Regions from separate parts of the Homo sapiens genome. Here region 2 is linked to region 1. Evidence: promoter capture Hi-C in human tissues and cell types (Jung and others, 2019). All regions are on one chromosome and are shown on one strand. The core of a region is centred on a gene start or on the middle of the fragment in contact, and the rest is flanking DNA. Distances in the headings are between cores, read along the strand shown.

Evidence for each region. The method cuts DNA at HindIII sites, captures the fragments that hold promoters and counts their contacts. A contact is called where the count stands out against the background at its distance.
Region 2: a fragment that was not itself captured here is called in contact with the fragment with the promoter of SLC32A1 in region 1 in 1 of the 25 tissues and cell types used here (lymphoblastoid cells).

What each region holds. Positions count from the first base shown.
Region 1 is chr20:38,723,226-38,725,949 of GRCh38, forward strand. SLC32A1 (solute carrier family 32 member 1) reads left to right here and starts at 1,261. Exons shown (of 2, transcript NM_080552.3): 1 at 1,261-1,889. The coding sequence starts at 1,500. The HindIII fragment of the contact is 7,924 bases long and covers 1-2,724 here.
Region 2 is chr20:39,316,744-39,319,500 of GRCh38, forward strand. No RefSeq gene overlaps it. Among named protein-coding and RNA genes, the nearest start is that of LINC01734, 93 kb to the left of the region's middle. The HindIII fragment of the contact is 7,480 bases long and covers 1-2,757 here.

The sequences.
Region 1 (2,724 bases), core at 11-2,510:
GGCACGAACGCAGGCAACCCCATTCGGGAACACATACGTAATCCAACACACTAGCTCTGGCACACACACTGGAATGCGCGCAAAACCACACAGACACAGAACACACGCGGTTACCAAACCTCATTCTCAGAGGCCACACTGATCCAACCTCAAGCAGAGTCTGATACAGCATCGGTCTTTGTCTCTGGGTCTCTCCCTTACTCGCGCTCACACACCCGTACCCCAATCAACACAAACAGCCCAAGCTTTCACAGCCTGGAGGCGGCCGTCGGAGCAGGGCCCCAGCGCACCGCGAGCCTCTGCTTCCTCCGCCTTGCAGCGCCGCGAGCCCTTCTTTCCTCCGCGCCTGGCCCCGTCTGCGCCCCTCTCGGCGTGGGCATTCGCAGACCCGCTAGGAGGCTGACGAGAGGTGTCCTCATAGAGTCCTGCCTTCTTCCAGACCCCCAAACGAAAAGAAAGAGAAAAGCCAACCTTTCGCCTCCATTCTGCACGCATTTGGAGAGCGGCTGGTGGCGAGCGATCCGCACAATCGCTTCCCTCGCGGCGTCCCTGGACGGGCGGAGAGAACCCGGGTGACTGAGCCTGAGGCTGAGCTTCCTTGGGAGCGATCCATGCCAGCCACTTCTACCTTCAAGGGGGACTCGCGGCCGGGTTTACGCGCGAAGGATGGGTGCCAGGGAAACTGACTTATAGACGACCCGCTCCGCGAGAGACTGACAACTCAGTCCTGCGGGCTTTCGGGGCGCCCAGACCAGTCCTTAGCCAGAGGATCTGGGGCTGCACAGCTCCCGGACCCTGGAGGGGGTGGTCCGGGGGTGGGAGACTGCGAGCATCAGCCCACGCCGGCCCCCTCCCACCCTGCGGCGGCGAGGTGGGAAGGGCCAGGATGCGAGCTTAGCACCTCCCCTAGAAATGCAGCACTTCGCCCCCCCACCTCCCCTGCCCTCGGCGCTCCCTCTTTCACGCGCTCCCTCCCGCCTCCTTCCCAAGGGCGCCCTTCTTCTGCCCCCAGCTCACGTCTGAATCCCTCGGCGCCCCCTTTCTCTTCTCCTAGCCCCTTCCTCACGTCCCCTGCCTCCGGGTATTTCCTCTCTCCAATCCCCCACCCCCGCACCGCCTGATTCCGAGGGGCGGGAGCGCATTGGGCTGCGCACGGGTGGGGGCGCCGCGCCAGCTTCGCGTAGCTGCTCTGACGCCGCTGCCGCCGCCGCCGCCGCCGCCGCCCTCCGCAGCCCAGCTCGCGCCCCGCGGCAGCTCCGCAGTGCACTAGCCACCACCGCCGCCGCCGCCGCTCCGCCAGACCTGCTGCCAGCTTGCCCGGTCCAGCCCTGAGAGAGCCTCGAACGCCAGCTGCGAGGGTCATGAGCCAGAGAGCCCCGGGGCGCCGCGCGGAGAGCAAGCGGAGATAGCGACTTTGCGCCCCCCAGCCCTCGCCTTCTTGCATCGCGTTCCCCGCATCCTCGGGTCCTTCTGTCCTTTCCGCTGTCCCCACCGCCGCCATGGCCACCTTGCTCCGCAGCAAGCTGTCCAACGTGGCCACGTCCGTGTCCAACAAGTCCCAGGCCAAGATGAGCGGCATGTTCGCCAGGATGGGTTTTCAGGCGGCCACGGATGAGGAGGCGGTGGGCTTCGCGCATTGCGACGACCTCGACTTTGAGCACCGCCAGGGCCTGCAGATGGACATCCTGAAAGCCGAGGGAGAGCCCTGCGGGGACGAGGGCGCTGAAGCGCCCGTCGAGGGAGACATCCATTATCAGCGAGGCAGCGGAGCTCCTCTGCCGCCCTCCGGCTCCAAGGACCAGGTGGGAGGTGGTGGCGAATTCGGGGGCCACGACAAGCCCAAAATCACGGCGTGGGAGGCAGGCTGGAACGTGACCAACGCCATCCAGGTAAGCGCGGGATTCCCAGTTCTGCCTGTCCTCCCCCCTCCCAGCTCAGCGTGCCGGGCTCTGCCCCCGACAGTCGCCCGGTGATCTCGGCCTGGAGACCCCCTCCTGTACCCAGGAATCTCCCTTTCTCCATCCCTCCCAGCCCTGCGCGGGGACCTACGCCCCCAGGCGGTGTTTTCCGCCCTAACCCACGCTCCCTCCCAACGGCACCAGCTGCAAGACCGCTAGGCTGAAGTTCGGTCTGAGACACCTGTCCGGAGACACTGCAAAAGTGAAGGAAATGGGGGGAGGGAGCAGGAAGCGATGAGAAAGAAAGAAAATCAGGATTGGAGGGCACGGTTTGGTCTTGGACTCTGGAACGGATTCACAGCTGCATTTTTGGGAGGAAAGAAGAAGGGGAAATCGCTGAGGTCGGAGTCTCCTCCCCCCGCACACACGCATAGACACGCACACGTATATAGGCAGGCACACCACATGCCCACAGCCCCCCTTCCCACGAACAAAGGCGCAGGCACAGGCGCACACGACATGTATCTATATATAGACCACAGTACTATCCCCAAATGCACCTGCGTACACCCCTACAGCTCCACAAACAAAAGCATATACCTGCACATACCAAACACACGAATATTCGTTTGAACATATGCACACACACATGCACAGATGCATGCAGACAGGAACCAGCCTGCTCCCTTGGGTGCGGCCCTGTTGGAGACATACAGGTATACACACACGAAAGCACACACATGCTCCCACACAAACACATTTAGTCCGCAATAATCCAGCATTACCTGTGCACAGACTCGCCCCTCTCGCCCGAAATCCCGGCTGC
Region 2 (2,757 bases), core at 3-2,502, 590 kb after region 1:
GCCTGGCCCATAGTTGGGTTCCAATAAATATTTGTTTTTATGACTAACAAATCCATGTAATCTCTGTGACCAGCTAAGTTCTCTTCTCAGCTTTATTGTGTTTTCATTCAATACTCCCCATCCTCAGAAAGCTGATTCATTCTGGGACTTCAGCTCTTACATCCATCTAGTGGATTACTAAATTTGTATATCCATTCCCGGCTCACATGGATAAGGCTGGCTTACATGGATAAATACTGGAATTGACAGTATTTGATTATTTTTAACTTACAAAAACAACAATTTCATAAATTGTAATCTAATATTCCCTTAAACTTCCACTCAAATGTTATATTGTCACCTTCAACACAACATAGGTGTTGTGCACTTCTCTGCCTATTGACTGTTCCTCTTCCTGGCATTGTTTAATCGGAAAATGCTTTTAGAATAGAAAGCTATCACTCTGTCCAGTAGTATCTTTTTATCATTGAGATGAAAGACTGAGGTTACATTCTGCCTCTGCTACATTCAAGTCACTTGCCTCAAGATCACACAGCAGAATGGTAGCAGAGGCAGAATGTAACCTCAGTCTTCTGTCTCCTGTTCTGGTTCTAGGTCTATCAAGTGCATGGATTCTCCAGCTTCCCAAGTCTTGCATCTCCATCTTCCTCCTTCCCCTCATCTTCTGGCAATATTCAGTTACCCACCAAGTCCAGGAACTTCTTCCTTCAAAATATGTCGTGTTCATATATATGTTTCCCAACTCAAGGACCTATGGCTGCCATGTTAGTTCAGGCCAACCTCATCTCCCACTTGAATCCCCGCAGAAGTTCATTGTTAAACCTCTCTCCTGCTTTCTTACATAATACCTGCCTAAAGGTATATATGAAAGCTAAAGTTTCAAAAGTCACCAAATAGCTTTTAAAGTCTAAGGGCTGTTTGGTCCCAGAGAGAAAAATGATTTTAAAAAATTAAAATAGTACCATATCATTTAGACATAATGTTTTGATTACATATGTTCTATGATTTTATAATTTTTTGTTCAATAATTTCAGACTTACAGAAAAAATGTAAAAATGATACAAAAATTGCCTGTATGCCTTTACTCAAACTCCCCAAATGTTAGCATTTCTAATGTTTACCATTTTCTCTCTCTTTATACATTTTTATTATTATTTTTTCAAACCATTTTTGTGAGTAAGATGTGAACATGATGTCCCTTGGTCCTAAATATACTAGTGTGGATTTTCTGAAAACAAGGACTTTCTTTTACATAATCACAGAAACATTATCAAAATCTGGATATTAGCACTAATAAATACAATTGAACAATCTACAGACTTTATTTAAATTTAATCAGTGGTCACTTTAAAATCCTTTCTAGCAAAAAAAGTTTCTGATTTCTGATCCAAAAAAGGATAACTTGTTGCAATTTGTTGTCATGTTCTGTAGTCTCCTTTAGTCAGGAATAGTAATTCAGTCTTTCTTTGTCTTTAATTGACCTTGACATTTCTGAAGAGAGGCCATTTATTTTGTAGGCTGTTCTTCTATTTATGTGTATCCCATGGTGCCTCGTGATTATTTGTGTCTTTAACTTTTATGTCTCTTTAATTTTTAAATGAGTTAATATTTGTAAATTGCTTTAAGCAGTGCCTGGCACATAGCTCTATATAAATATTTGTTAAATACGCTTTGATCCTTTTCTTCACAGCCAAATATACAGTTGACCAATCTATGGCCAATGAGTACTTGAAATGGAAGATTTGTCATTTGGGGGAATTTCTAAGTATTTTCATCTTTGTTTCAACTGCTTTACCTGTCTGAAAACTATGTTTCTTATAGCTAATATCAGCATTTACATTTGTACCCCTTTCTGTACTTAATAACATAATAAAAACAAAACCAAATCTACCATTAGGTCATCCCACAGACCCTGGCCTGTGGATAGAGATATCATTGCTGCCCAAGTTGAGTTCTTGGCTGCTAGGCAGGGTCACCTGGTCCTTGGGTGCTCAAGAATCAAAACCTGGGCTATGCGTGTGCAGCATAATGGACTAAAAATGTGAGCTATCCAAATATTTTAAGAATAAAAGTGGAAGACTTTTCTGCAAATTATGGCGGCATTGGTATGGTATTCTATGAGGTATTTAATTTAATGTTCATTGCAGAATGGGATTTCACTCAATATTTTTTGTTTGTTGAATTACTTATTGCTTCCTTCCTGGCACAAACCTTGTGGGTCAGCAGACTGGACTCCTTGTGTCCTACTGGGAATGTGATGCATCACATCCCTGCTTCTGGGCTTTTGCTTCTATGGCTCCATCTGGATGGCCCTTCTCACATTTCCACCTGCTCTCCTGCTCAGGCCTCTTAAGCTCGACATAGCCCCACCTCTCCCGGGCCCTCCCTCCACATCTGTCTCTTCCTTCTCAGTCCCCTGCAGCATCTCTGCTCTGTATCACCCAGTCTGGCACTAAACAAGAGATAGATTTGATTCTGAATTAGCTGTTCCCTACCTCAAGCCCCATTCCCCCAAATGGGCTAGGAAGTCTTTGAAGTAGGTATAATTGGAGGTAGATTTAGGTTTTTAAAAAGTTGAATTTCCTTGACAATTTAAATTTGAGAAAATTATATTTGAAGATGGAGCATGAATAAGGTCGTATATTTCTTATCACCTCAAACATGGATCCTATATGAGCTAGCATTTATCTAAAGATTATTTCCAATGACTTGCCAATTATTGTGCTATTTTACATGTATTATTTCCTTTAATCTTTA